Linked DNA regions of Homo sapiens: regions 2, 3 and 4 are each linked to region 1. Evidence: promoter capture Hi-C in 16 types of primary human blood cells and fetal thymus (Javierre and others, 2016). All regions are on one chromosome and are shown on one strand. Each heading gives the region's core, a stretch centred on a gene start or on the middle of the fragment in contact. The rest is flanking DNA. Distances are from core to core; before and after follow the strand shown. Region 1 holds the start of REV1 (REV1 DNA directed polymerase). Region 2 holds the start of UNC50 (unc-50 inner nuclear membrane RNA binding protein). Region 3 overlaps MGAT4A (alpha-1,3-mannosyl-glycoprotein 4-beta-N-acetylglucosaminyltransferase A). Region 4 has its middle 57 kb from the start of LONRF2.

Evidence for each region. Contacts are between HindIII fragments. The CHiCAGO score rates a contact against its expected background, and 5 or more counts as called.
Region 2: a fragment that was not itself captured here is called in contact with the fragment with the promoter of REV1 in region 1 in 1 of 17 cell types (fetal thymus); the score reaches 6.9 in fetal thymus.
Region 3: a fragment that was not itself captured here is called in contact with the fragment with the promoter of REV1 in region 1 in 1 of 17 cell types (neutrophils); the score reaches 6.3 in neutrophils.
Region 4: a fragment that was not itself captured here is called in contact with the fragment with the promoter of REV1 in region 1 in 2 of 17 cell types (M1 macrophages and M0 macrophages); the score reaches 7.3 in M1 macrophages.

The regions. Positions count from the first base shown.
Region 1 is chr2:99,488,004-99,491,556 of GRCh38, forward strand. It overlaps REV1 (REV1 DNA directed polymerase), which reads right to left and starts at 2,014. Exons shown (of 23, transcript NM_016316.4): 1 at 1,814-2,014. RefSeq lists silencers at 1,489-1,568, 1,639-1,738, 1,849-2,518 and an enhancer at 1,952-2,837. The HindIII fragment of the contact is 11,070 bases long and covers 1-3,553 here.
Region 2 is chr2:98,608,203-98,611,755 of GRCh38, forward strand. UNC50 (unc-50 inner nuclear membrane RNA binding protein) reads left to right here and starts at 387. Exons shown (of 6, transcript NM_014044.7): 1 at 387-524; 2 at 1,554-1,837; 3 at 2,573-2,693. The coding sequence starts at 1,558. COA5 (cytochrome c oxidase assembly factor 5) reads right to left here and starts at 310. Exons shown (of 3, transcript NM_001008215.3): 1 at 105-310. The coding sequence starts at 203. RefSeq lists an enhancer at 1-451 and a silencer at 515-614. The HindIII fragment of the contact is 1,435 bases long and covers 1,192-2,626 here.
Region 3 is chr2:98,653,590-98,657,142 of GRCh38, forward strand. MGAT4A (alpha-1,3-mannosyl-glycoprotein 4-beta-N-acetylglucosaminyltransferase A) reads right to left here. Exons shown (of 16, transcript NM_012214.3): 7 at 2,763-2,876; 8 at 1,856-1,931. Among named protein-coding and RNA genes, the nearest start is that of UNC50, 47 kb to the left of the region's middle. The HindIII fragment of the contact is 2,662 bases long and covers 639-3,300 here.
Region 4 is chr2:100,263,785-100,267,337 of GRCh38, forward strand. No RefSeq gene overlaps it. Among named protein-coding and RNA genes, the nearest start is that of LONRF2, 57 kb to the right of the region's middle. The HindIII fragment of the contact is 7,771 bases long and covers 1-3,553 here.

The sequences.
Region 1 (3,553 bases), core at 764-3,263:
AAACGAGAAAAAATCAGAGATACTAGTAACTTAACTTGTCCAGTCACCAGCTAACAATTTGTAGGGCCAGAAATCTAACCTCCATGTAACTGTGAACTTCCTGTCTTTCCACTACAGCAGCTATCAAAGAAAGTGCTTTCAAATATATATTATATGTAGTCACTGCAACTTCTTATGAATAATGACCAGTTTGTTGCTGGTGAGGACAACGTTTCCTTAATGCTCTTATGTAGAATCAGAGTTTTGAAGTTGCGAGTGGGAAGTTGGAAATGTAGTGATCTTATATATTCAAGCACATTATTTTTTAAAAATTATGTTCTACTTGAGACCTCATAGAAATTAATTTTAAAAGAGCAATTCCCATCTTTACAAAAAAAATTAAATATGTACGGTTTACCGTAAAATAGCGGTTAAGGTTCTACAACAAAAGATAGGAGTTTGGTACAGACTCTACCCTCAAAAGGTCCTACACAGTAAGAGAAGACAGGGCTAAAAAGATAAACGCAACACAGGAAAAGGCGCAAATAGCCTAAGAATTGAATGGAAGAGAGCCTTGTATACTGGAGAATGATTCCTGGAAGAGGAACTTTAGGTGAGCTCTTAAGTGTCCAGTACAGGAAGGCAGGGAACAATACGCAGCACTGGTCCCTGCACGGGCAAACCCAAGAATATGTGTGAAAGGTTGGTGGACAGATAGATGGTTCCCACAGGCTGATTTGCTACATACAGAACTCCATAGAAAGAACCAAGGTTATGGTTGGTCCTACCCTACCTAAACAGGAAATGGCTTATTCTCGGAGACTAAAGTGCCAAGTCCGGAAAGACCAGACAGATACACAGAATTACAGACTGTTACATAAAGTCCTTAATAGTTACAAGCCCTTGTTGTGCTATGTGCTAGTCTGCATTATTTTCACCTAAATGAAACCATTTCTACTTAGTACATGGCGTGAGAAGACGTGGAGATAAAGAGAATTAGCAGACGTATATTATCTGCAATTTATCTTACGGAGGAGTACATTAAGGAGTGTTATGTGAGATTATTTCTTTACAAACTGAGAATAGGTAGGAAGAGCAGCGAAACACAGCGCGGCTCGGTGCGCCCAGAGCGGCGTCACTGTAACAGTACAGAAGTGGGCAAGGGGCTCTCGGAAGGACAGTTGGGGAACGGCGCCCAGCGTATTTAGCGAACGGACAAGCAGCAAGGAAAAACAAGGGAGCAACAACCGCCTTCGGACATTCCGACCGGTTCTGGGATGCACCGGGGACGTCGAAGGCGGGGTGCGGAAAAACGCTGTGGCTGGAGTGCGGGTGGGAGCGGCGGCTCGACCGGGTCGACATTCTACAAACGCTTGTGGAACGAACGCCCGAACGCGCGCGTGAATGAATGGCGCGGAACTGAATGGCCGGCCGAGGCGCCGGCGCAGGAGGAAGGAGTTTGCGGCGCGGTCTGACCGGGCCGGCGGGATGCGGCCGGGCGCGGAGGGAAGGGCCGCTGCGCCAGGGGTCGGCGCGGGGCGGCCCATGGGGCTGGCGGCGGCGCGGGGCCGGCCGCGCCATGACGGAAGGGAAGGGGAGGGGAGGTCACACATTACATAACCCGGCGGCTGCGAGCGTCAGGGGAAGGCGCCGTGGACAGCCCAGGCCGCGACAGGACGGCCGCGGGCCGGGGCCGGGGCGACGCACCCCTCCCCCGCGCCACCTCAGGCCGACCGCGCTCTGGCCGCTGCCGGGCGGGTCTGCGGCGCCTCCGGGCGACGCGTGTCCGATCCCGCCCCTCCCCCACCCCGCCGCCGGCCCGGGGGTCGCTCACCTTCCGCGTTGCCCCAGACCACCATGCCCGGGCCCGGCGGCCTTCTCCGGCCTTGCGGACCCCGGCCCCGCCGCCGCCAGTGCCCTCGCCAGGGACCAGGGAGGAGGGCCGGGGGAAGGCAGCCCCACCGCTGAGCAGCGCCGCGGTCCACGCTCCCCCACGCTCGCGGCAACCAACCCCGCGCGCGCTCCGCGGTGGCTCTCCGCCCCTCCCCCTCCGGTTAGCGCGCGCGCCGCAGCCACGCCCCCTAGCGTTCCGCGCGCGCTCCCCGGCCCCGCTCGCGCTCACAGCCGCGCGGCGCACGCGCTCTGCTCCCCCCGGCCCGGGGCGACCCCAGCCTCGGGCGTAGCACCGCGGCGCCCGGCGTCGGCCTCCGTGTTCCTCCCCTCCCCGGCCCCGCCCTGTTGTTCTGCAGCCGCCCGCAAGGGGCAGCGCCTGGGCGGCACGTGACCGTCTCGCTAGCTGGGCGGAGGGGAGCGCAGCGCGGGCCCGCCCACGCACTGCGCCGCCTGCCCGCCCGTCCTGCTCCGGTCACCCCCGCGCTTCGTTGACCGGGTCGCGGCTCTTCGGTTGCCATTCGGACAGCGCGCCGCTCCGTGCACAGCGAGTCCCCGCGCCTGCCCCGCCTTGGGGCTCCCCAGTGGGGAAGGACACAAGTGCAGACACTGACCGGGCTTCAAACCCCGGTACTGTGTGAAGATGCGCCAGACGCCCGGGTTCCCTCCTTAAGCAATTGATTTACAGTGACATCTAGTGGAGAAAGGGACACACATGAACTGACATTTTCCTATGTCCAGAGCAACCGAGAACCACGGCCCACTCAGGTTCGCGGGAAGGAGCACTGCGCCACGGCGTTTTCGGGATTCGTGGCCTGCTCCCGCAGGGCACAGACACTATCTTCTGTCCTTTGAGTGCCCGGGCAGCATTGCGCCTGAGTATTTGTAAACGGAGGGCCGGTATCCCATCCCATGTACAGCGCTGGAGTTACCCGAGAAAGCAGTTTTCTATGAATATAAAAATAATATCCTATATTATGTATGCGTAAGTACAATTCTAATTGAGGGCCTTCTAGCAGAAAACAATCCGTCCATAAGGACCACTTTCTCCCTCTTGGCAGGGTCGCTTTGAAGACTCCACATTGTTACATAATAGTCTTTATTGTTGTAATGCACAAACATGAAGATACTTTTTTCCCACTCATTCCCTTGCCTAAAATGCTTCAGAGTTTGCAGGTACTTAGGAAACAATCAGTATTCTTTTGAAAACTGATTTGCAGAGTTGGAACTTGTTTACTAGCAACACAGAGAATACTCAAATAGCTCATTTCTTTCCCTTTCAGTTTTTTGCCATTTTATAGACTTCTATAAATGCACTTCAACTTCAGTATTCTCGTCGCTAATCCAACGAATTTAGATTGCATACTTTTCAAAGACGTCATAATTTAAAACAAATTGCGTAATTGCTTTCTTTTCTTTTCTTTTCTTTTGAGACGAAGTTTTGCTCTTTTGCCCAGGCTGGAGTGCAATGGCGCGATCTCGGCTCACTGCAACCTCCGCCTCCCAGGTTCAAGTGATTCTCCCACCTCAGCCTCCCGAGTAGCTGGGATTACAGGCATGCGCCACCATGCCCGGCTAATTTTTGTATTTTTAGTAGAGAGGGGGTTTCACCATGTTGGCCAGGCTGGTCTGGAAGTCCTGACCTCAGGTAATCCACCAGCCTTGGCATCCTAAAGTGCTAGGA
Region 2 (3,553 bases), core at 659-3,158, 880 kb before region 1:
GATGGTTAACTCCAACCGCCGCCGCGGGCGACCCGCTGCCCTCCGCCGAGCCAGGCCTGCCTGGGACAGGGGTCGTCACCACCGGGAGCGCCCGGCCGCGCTACCTGGACCACACAGTCCGACTGCAGCAGACACGCGCCCAGGTCCTCCTTCAGGCCCGCGCACGCGCCGCCCTGCGGCTTGTCCTCATAATACTTAGGCATGACGGCGCTTCCCCTCCGATGCGGACGCGACTTTCTCCCACCGCAACACTTGCAACCGGGTCGGGAGCGAGCGAGGCCCCAGTCTCAGGGGACCGGAAGCCAGCGGCAACAACTTCCGGCGGGCCGCGGCGGTAGGGCCGAGGACTACGGGGGCCGAGAGGTGGCGCGTCCGCGGCGGAAGTCGGTTCCCGTGACGCGGCGCGCCCCAAGGGCCGGCTCCGTTGAGGGAAGGGAAGCCCGCCCGGTGGCGGCTGGGGTCGGCTGCTGGGAGGAGGTGGTGGGCTGGTTCGGACGTGGGTCGAGGCTGTAGCAGGACTCCAGGTGAGGCCTGAGGACCACTCTGCCCTCCCGCGGCCCGGGCTCGCGCCGGGGGCCATTTAATCCCGACAGCTTGCGGCCTGACGTCGCTGCGGCCTGGCAGTGACCATGTCGGCGTCCGGCCCCTCGGCCGGCGATAGAGTTGCGGCTAAAATGAAAGGACGCCCAGTTACATTTGCATCGTAGATAAAGAAAGAGCATTTAGTATAAGCATGTCCGAAATGTTGCGTGGGATGTAGGCATACTAAAACCTTATTCGTGGCCTGTCTGAAATCCAAATGGAGCTGGGTATTCTGTGTTTTTATTTGCTAAATCTGGCAGCCGTACCCGCGGCCCCGGGCAGGGAGGGAGCAGCTGGGCTCGGCCAGACCCTGCCGGCGTCTGGGGGGCCTGCGAAGTGGAGGGGAGACGGGCAGCCGGGCAGTGGCCGGCGTTCCCCGGAGCTCGGACCGGTTGGATTGGACTCCGACGCTACCGCTCCCTCTGCTGAACTATTCCGGATGTAAAACACTAGGGATCGGAGTTTTTCTTGGTTTTTTAATCTCATTCTAGTGACCGAGAAGCTTGCTGGCAGTGCGCTGATGGATCTGTGTGAATAGGCCATTTATTTGACCTCTTCAGTAACACTGTTCTAACCGGCTGAAACTGCTTTCTTAGGCATTTTCTTAAAAGCTTGGTGGTTAAGAGCACGGAATTTCGAGTCAGATTTCCAATCTTGGCTCTATCACTATCCTCGGAGTCATGGGGCAGTCACATCATCCCTGTCTCTGTAATGGTAGCTGCCCCTGGATAAGTGTTATTAGGTGATTCAGAAGGGTGGGCTGTTGCCCTTGCCTGAGGTTGCAGTCTGCGGTTCCCAAGCCCCAAGACCCGCCTCAGAACTAACTGCATTTGCTTTTGACTCCTGGCCTTTCTCTAGGGTTGGGAAGAACATGGAAAGTGACCTCCCTGCCAAATAACTCAGAAGAGGAGTGTCGGTAGCCAAATGTTTCTTCAGAATACGTGTAAAAGAAATGTTTTTCTTCCATCTAGGAAGATGTTACCGAGTACTTCAGTGAATTCCTTAGTGCAGGGGAACGGAGTCTTGAATTCCAGGGATGCGGCAAGACACACAGCCGGAGCGAAACGCTACAAATATCTGAGAAGGCTTTTCCGCTTTCGGCAAATGGACTTTGAATTTGCTGCCTGGCAGATGCTCTACCTGTTCACATCCCCACAGAGAGTTTACAGAAATTTTCATTATCGAAAACAGACGAAGGACCAGTGGGCCAGAGATGACCCTGCTTTCTTGGTCCTGTTAAGTATCTGGCTCTGTGGTAAGTGTGTTTATCTGAGATAGAATTGAACGCTGAGTGTTTCTGATTAGATTTTTTGTTATAAATGTGTTGTGGGTCAGAATCTGGAAATATTGGAAACTATTTCTCCTTTTTACTGAAGCCTCAAAAAATCTCACAGGAAAGAAAGTTGTAGTCTTGGTTCTACAGGTCCCAAGCAGATGCCAGAGTAAACTGTTACCCTAGGACATTGAAAAGCAGGGGACAAGATTCACTCCATATCTTTTTAAGTACTTGAATCGGTACCCAAATGTCAGCTGACTGTGAATAGGAATATGAAACTGGAAATTGCATTTCACAGGCAAATCCACAGTGAGAATTGTAAAGGTATTGATGGGAACCTGAGAAACTGAAGTTCTCCAATTCCATAATGCAAGGGTCTCATTTACCTGTAGGGTGTTGAAGTGGGTAAGATATTGAAGTTTATAGGGTGTTTTGCACCTTAACTGGACTTAAACTATGTTAGTGCCTTCTCTACACTGGCGTTCTAAATACTGAGGCCACCGTGGTGAATCAGCCTGGCAAGGGCCCACCTCAGGAAACTTCAACTCTCTCAGTGGCCACGCTGTGTCCCAAGGTAGTGTTCACACATCTTGGGAGTTTTGTTTAAAGACCTGTCTCTCCCACTAGCCTGGGCATCTGGAGGGCAAGGGATGTGTCCTGTATTTCCAGAACCTAGCAGAGTCCCTAAATGAATCTTGTGAATCTTTCTTTCAGTGTCCACTATAGGATTTGGCTTTGTGCTGGACATGGGATTCTTTGAGACAATAAAGCTTCTCCTTTGGGTTGTACTCATAGATTGTGTAGGCGTTGGTCTTCTGATAGCAACTTTAATGTGGTAAGTACCATAACTTTGGTTTTTCAGATACTGCTGTAGCATCTCCATTTGTTTGCTTCAGAGGTACAATAGCAGCAGATGGAAATTGAAACCCAGGTAGAGTTACTAAATGATCAATTTTGACTGCCAAGATTATTACAATTTTCCCTCCTGTGTTGCCACCTATATCAGAAAATACTATAAAGGCTGGTTTATAATATTGTCAAATGTAGCAAATAATTGAAATAATTATGTTTTGAACCCAAAATATCTGAGATCGGTCTCAATTTAGAAAGTTTAGTTTGCCAAAGTTAAGGACATGCCTGTGACACAGCCTTAGGAGGTCCTGATGACATGTGCCCAAGGTGGTCGGGGCACAGCTTGCTCTTATACATTTTAGGGAGACTTGAGACATCAGTCAATATGTGTAAAATGTACATTGTTTTAATCCAGAAAGTGGGGAAAGGCAGGTTACAGTTAGATAAGAGACAAATGGTTGCATTCTTTTGAGTCTTTGATCTGCCTTTCACTGAATACACAATTTACTTGTGAGAGGCAGGTACAGGAATAGTCATTTATGCCTTAATCTGGCTCAGTGAGTCTGCATTTTTACATAAACAATGGGGCAGAGGAAGCAATCAGATAAACACTTGTCTCAGGTGAGTAGAAGGAGGACTTTCTGTCCCACACCTGTAAAGATAAGCTATCTTAGGAATAAAATAGGAGGCAAGTTTGCCTGACACAGTTACCAGCTTGACTTTTCCCTTTGGCTTAGTGATTTTGGGGTCCCGAGATTTATTTTCTGCATACTAACAAAATGCCTGGTTTTGCAAAAATATTACAGATTTAGCCAGTTCTGCTTAAGTTGTCTGGATGATAGC
Region 3 (3,553 bases), core at 720-3,219, 830 kb before region 1:
CCTCTAAAAACAATTTTCCATGGGTGAATCATGGAGAAATAAAAACTTTGAACACACTTATAATAACTAAGGGGATTAAAGCAGTAATCAAAAACCTCTCAGCAAAGAAAAACCCAGGACCAGAGAACTTCACTGGAAAATTCTGCTGAACACTTAAAGAATTAACATCAATCTTCCTCAAACAGCTATCTTCCAAAGAACTGAAACAGAGGGAACACTTTTCAAACACATTCTAGGAGGCCTGCATTTCTCTGACACCAAAGCCAGACAAAGACACAAGAAAACTACAGACCAATATCCCTGATGCAAAAATCCTCAACAGAACACTAGCAAATGGAATTAAAATGCACATTAAAAGAATTATATACACCATAACCAAGTGGGATTTATACCTGCAATACAGGGATCGTTCAACACACAAAAATCAATCAGTGTAACATATACTACATTAACAAAATGGAGGAAAAAAACACATGATCATCTCAATTGGTATGGAAAAGCATTTGACAACATTCAAGACACTTTCTTGATTAAAAAAAATGTGACGAACTAGAAATAGAAAAAAACTTATTCAACAAAATAAAGGTAATATATGAAAAGCCCATCGGTAATATCACACTTGGCAGCAAACAAATGAAAGCTTTCCCTCTAAGATTAGAAGCAGGGCAAGGAGTCCCACTTTCACCACTACTAGTCAACATAGTGCTGGAAATCCTAACTAGAGCAATTAAACAAGTAAAAAAAGTAAAAGGTACCCAAACCGGAAAAGAAGAAGTAAAATTATCATTATTTGCAGATGAAATAATCTTATATGTAGAAAAACCTAAAGAATCCACCAAAAACTACAAGCAATAAATGATTTCAGCAAAGTTTCAGGATACAAAATCAACACACAAAAATAGTTGTATTTTTGTATACTAACAATGACCAATCCAAAAAAAAAATCAAGAAAACAATGCCATTTACTGTAGTATCAAAAAAGATAAAATACTTAGGAATAAACCTAACTGGGGAGGTGGAAAATTTTTCTACAAAACATTTCTAAAAGAAATCAAAGAAGATACAAATAAATGGAAAGACATCTTGTGCTCATGTATTGGAAGACTTAATAATATTAAAATGTCCACACTACCTAAAGCGATCTACAGATTCAATACAATCCCTACCAAAATTCCCAAGGCATTTTTTACAGAAATAGAAAAAAATCCTCCTCAAATTTACATGGAGTCTGAAGTGACCCTAAACAGCCAAAATAGTCTTAAAAAAAAGGGAACACAGTTGGAGGCCTCATACTTCCTAATTTTAAAACATGCTACATGTCAGGTGCAGCAGCTCGTGTCTGTAATCCCATGACATATTGTGTTCTTGGTAAAAATTGGACTGTTGTGCTGCTAAAAATAATTGGACTGTTAGAATTAAATGTCAATTTTATTATCTTCAAAATAGTGGTAACAGTATTGTGGCCTACAAAAAAAAATTAGTTCATTGTAAGACCACTAAAGAAAAATTGTAAGAAAATTCCTCTTTAAAATCTGCCAAATAATGACATCTTAGTTCTTCTTGACAGTGGAGAGAGGGAAGAGGGAAGAGAAGATGGGGGAATGGGAGAAAAAGAGGAAAAAGATAAGTGAGTTGCAGGTCCCCCGCTAAGTGGAGGGCTGGCTTCCCTACTCAGTGGAGAAACATCAGAGCCCACATGCTCAGTTACCATGGAGACCCCTCTGCTCTGAGATAGTTATGATTTGTCAGATCTCAGAGGGTTTGCACTTTCAAAACTTCCTGTTTTAATGAAAACATACCCTTGATAACACTTTTTCTTTACAAGCATGAAAAACAAAGGAAAAACTACACTTACCTGAATGTAATATATGCCCTTTTCTTGAGCATACATCATTAGAAAACAGTAATCTAGGTTTTGCTTTGTTCTCCATCTGAAATAAACATTTTCAAAAAGTAAGTTAGGAATCAGACTCAAATTTAGTAAAATAAGATTAAATGTATAAATGTCAAATGTCTACATAACATGTCATCTATGTATATGTGTACACACACACACATACACACACACTCACTTAGGACGAAGAGTCAAAGAAAATTCACTTTCCTCTAATGAAGACTTTATCAAAATGTATTCCCAAGAACACTAATTCTCAAGCTGTCCTGAGGAAAAAAATGAGTCTAATATCAAGTAAGTATGTATACATGTTCCCCTTCTAGAAACATATTAATTCATAAGAGGCACAAAAATATCCAACGGTAAAGACATTTATTGGGAAAAAAATTCTTAATACATATTTTTCCAAACTTCCTTGACCACAGACCCTTTTTTCAGTAATATCTTAATGTTTCATCAAATGAGTGCTTCAAAAATTACAATTTTAGGGTCCCTATTCTGGTGCCTAGGACTGTTTGCACGCAGATCAAAGTTCACAAATAGGTACTGAATGCTTTAAAAAATTCATATTTAAATTTACAGTATTAAACCCTGTCAGTGAATTCCTGGTAGCCTACAGAAACACATAAGAGAAGTGGATCTAAAAGCTAGTTTAAGAAAACACAGTAAAATAAAAGCTAATATTAAGTTTTTACATATTCTAAGAAAACTCTACATTATTTCCAAGCGGTCCTGGACTTAATGAGACTTACCTAGAATATTTTACCAAATTCAACTCTAAAATGTTTTCAGCTTCGATAAATAAAAACTACATGTATTAAATATTTACACTCACAAGTGTGGAGGATTTTAAACGGCACATGCTCACCTTACTCTTTCTTTGGAGTCTCCAAATGTCTCCTTTAGGTTTGTCAAGTCAGGATAATAGCTTTCAGGGGGTGATATGACTTCCACCAAGCCAGAACTGATTTCTTTAGAAAATCTATTATGAGAAAGTTAGCTGAGTTACTTAAGTTCTGTGGGATTTTATTTATCTTAAAGCTCAATACACTGTGTTTAACATAAAACACATCAGTAATCATTTGTAGCAACGTATAATGTTATGGCCGCAAGGTGTTAAAAGGAGCAGCTCATCACTGATTTCATTTACAGAAAATACAGTTTTTTCCAATAGCAAAAGTTTTTTTTTAAAGTAATGCTTTAAAAACTATAAAATACTGCTCTTATTAAAGTAGCATAGAAATCCTAAGCCAACTGCAGGCATTAACGTTCCTAAAATGTATCTGAATTAAAAAAAAAAAATCAAGGTCTCACAGAAAATAGAAAATTGAAGAAAAACAAATAAGTATGTATGTGTCTTTAAATACGTATATTTTGCAAAAACCAAAGCTCTTACATCTTCAAGAAGCTTTGCTTGTGGGTTATAGACCACATGTCATTCTCAACCAGTGTTTCTCAACTGGGGGTGATTCTGTCCCTCTGGAAGACATTTAGCAATGTCTGAAGACGTTCTGGTTGCCACAACTGTGATCAGTACTACTGACGCCTAGTGGGTAGACATTAGGGATCCTGCCCCACATTCTACAATGCATACGGCAGCCCCCACAACAAAAAATTATCTGGCCCAAAATGTCCATTGGGCTGAGGTTAAGAACCCTT
Region 4 (3,553 bases), core at 603-3,102, 780 kb after region 1:
TTCTTGAACACTTTTCTCTGTGACAGTCAAAATCAGCCTGGACTGAAAAGAGAAGAAAGCAGCCTAGCTGTTAATCCCGCTGGGAGGACACACTCTGATAAAGCCAGCTGCAGCATCCGCCGAAAATGCCATTTCTCCCGGGGTCAACCTATAGCTGGAAAATGCCAGGATGATCTCCCTTGAGTGAGCACTGCTTCCTCACCAATCGTGCCCTAGAGCCGCTTTGCTGCACCCCTCTTTTGCTACGAATCCCCAAATGCTGAGCCCTCCTTGCTCTTGCTGGCACCCAAACAGTAGTCAATCCTGCTGTTCCTGAGACTGTCTTGGAAACAGCAGCCAGCACAGGATGGATCCCACTTCCTCAGACCCTCATCAGAGTCTCCAGGGAGAGCCCAGACCTTCTAGAAGGGGCTTCCCTCCCCCTCCCCCACCAAGTGTGCAGCACTCCCAGATTCTAAAGTCATGTCAGTCAGTGGCATTTTTCGGACCGAGGGGTGCATGGTGGTCTTCGGCAGATGGAAACTCACTTTTGCGAGCTCCCTGATAGCGGGGTGCAGGCCTCCACCTCCTCAGAGGCCCGCATGAGAAATCTTGGCAGGGAGGGAGGCAAGGGAGGAACGGGGCTCAGCTGGAATCCTGACTTCAGCAAAGGCGATGGAGGAAAGTTAAGGGCAGTGGCTGCAGTTATGTGAATCAGATGCAGCCCCAGCAGAGCTTCTGGTGCCCAGGCTGGAGCACCCCCAAGTGCCCCTTGAGCTATGAGCATCCAGCGAGACACTGGGCGTGCACAGCCTTATGGTGGGCTGTGGCATCGAACCACTGAATGAGAGAAGGTCTCTAGTAGAATCCGCCCTTCCTTCCTCCCCTCCCTCCTGCCTCCATCTTTCCCTTCCTTCTTCCCTCCCTCCTTCCTTCCACAAGCATCTTTGTGCAGGAACTGTGTTGAGTGTTGGGGGCACAGATGCCTCTGGCCAGTCCCCACATCCCCAGGCTTCTGAAGATTTCATCATGACACAGTGACAGTGGAGGGACAATCTCCCAGGTGGGGCGGCATCTGGGGGCAGGTGGCACCTGTGCACCCTTGAGCATGGGTTTGAGGGCACCCTACCGTTCCATTTTTGGGGTCTGGGCCAACATGCAGATCTGAGCCTCTGCAGGCCTGTGAGGCTGGTTCCGCTCAGCTGGCACCTTGGTTATCTGCTGAGCAGTAGCGACTGCTCTTTCAGGCCACAGTGTGTGCCACCAGGCCCATGTTAGGGATCTTAGGTCTCAGGGGTGTGTGGAATACCACGCCCCTCACTCTCCCTGGGTATGGAAGGGTGTGAGACACAGCACACTCTCCTCCCTAGCCAGACTGCAGGGATCTCCACCTCCTCCCCTAGAAATAAGGGTACTGTATGCATAGTGCTAGGAGTCAGAGCCCCCACCTCAGGACTGGGAGGAGGAAGAAAAAGGGCCCTGGGGCATGGAGAAATGTCTGACTCTCATCTCCCAACACACACACCCACCCTTCTCCTTCTCCCCAGCCCTAAGCCCTCCCTCCCCACAGGGAGTGTCAGCTGGGTGCAGGTGCTCGCTTCACGCATGCTGTGCTGAATCTTCTGGACGCTCCCACACTGCCTGGCCTGACTCCACCCTTCGGAGGCCATGCGCTCTGTGAAAGGGCATTGGCGGCAGTTGTGTGAATCAGAAGCAGTGGTCCTGCCTGAGACCGTGGTCCGGCCAGAGGCAGGGATCCAGGAGGCCTGGGGCCTAGCATAGGCCCAGGTTAGTCTGTGACCTTAGCAGTTCACTCCCTTACTTTGAGTTTGAGTGAGGGGTTGGGTCGCTGTGTCCCCAGGGAAAAATTTCCCTTTGGAAACCCAGACATTTCAACCTGCAGAGCTCAGAATTCAGGGCATGGGAAGCACAGATGCTCCAAGTTGGCTTCTGGGAGCTGGAGTCAGCACATCTTGGTTTCCAGACCTGAGGGCTTTCTACTGGGGACAAAGTGTCATGTAAAAGTGCTTGATCCCAAGTGCCTCCTGCATCCTGGAGGACAGCATCCCATTCTTGTCAGGTAGTGCCTGTGAGCTGGCACTAGGCCTTTAACAGCCATGCCAATTTCCTATAAGATCAGAAGCTCCTGTCTAGTTCAGTAGGTGACAGGCATCCACCATCACAGCCCATGCTGCGTCCTTCACAATGGAGGTGCTGTCCACTGCCGACAAAGCCAACACTCCATGAGCCCTGTCTTAGTGCTTCTGATGGAGGCCTTCTGGTTGGGAGAGAAATCTGTACTCAGAGTAGCAGTCTATTTAGATTTCAGAATGAGTCAGTGGCCCTTCGGCTTTCTATCAAGTTCAGTATTTGTCTCCATTACTGGCAGACTGGACACTTGGTGGAAGCAGTAGCTACATTATCTTTGGTAAGTAGAAGGCTGTGCCATTGGGCTCACTCATAGCCTCCATCCCTGCCACCATTGTGCCAGCACTGGGGGGCCAATGACACAGGCTGGCCCATGTTACCTGACTGAGTCATTTCGCCTACTTGGCTGCTAGGAGCGTCTTCTGTGGTGGATGCTCTCCAGTGAGCACTATCATGTAATAAGACTGTCATCACGCTCTCCGCCTGCCACTCCCATGTGCCTACCCGCATGCCTCTACCGGACCTCCCTGCCCCAGATCTTGCAGCCTTTGTCTTTCCAGGCTCCTGAAGCCAGACAAGCCATTTGGCACTGCCCACGAGTCCATGTATATTCTAACTCTGGCCTAGTTTTCCTTCCACACAAAGTGGATGACCAGGTACTCTGCCCCAAATTCTGCCCATTGGGAGCTTTCTCCATCGCTACTGTCTTTCGAGGCCACCCTTGATCAAGGCTGTATGCAGCTGCCATCTATGTGCAGCTCACACAAACACGTCAAGCCCACTTGAGCATGAACTGAGCTTGGATGTTTTCTTCCTCCTTTGGTTATACAGAATTCCCCACATAGCCATGGGTATGAACTGGTAAGATGCAGTGGTACACACATGGTGGATGACAGAGGTCTGAGCTATGTTTGTGTAGTGTGCCCTGGTCCTGCTCGTGTGTGACTGTAGGGATACCACTTTCATCTTAAGATGGATTTTTGCTGACCCGCCTCATCTTATATGATGGTTCTGCCCAACCCTAACTCATTGGGGCAGCTGTGGCTGCATGTCCACTTTCTGCCATGGCCAAGGGCTCTGTCTCCACCAGGACCCAGCAGCATGCTGGCAGTCTTGTGATTCTCCTATTATAATTTGCAATAAATTCCACACAGCTCCTTTCTTCTGTTGTATTATTTTGCTAGGGTTGCTATAATAAAGTACCACAATTGAAAGCCTTAAACAACTGCAATTTATTTTCTTGCAGTTGTGAAGGCTAGAAGTCAGGATCAAGGTGTCAGCAGGGTTCGTCCCCTCTAAGGGATGAGAGGGAAGTGTGTGCTCCAGGCCTCTCTCCTGGGCTTGCAGATGACTATCTTTCCCCTGTGTCTTTACATGAGCTTCCTCCCTGGATGTAGTTGTGTCCAAATTTTCTCTTATATGGACA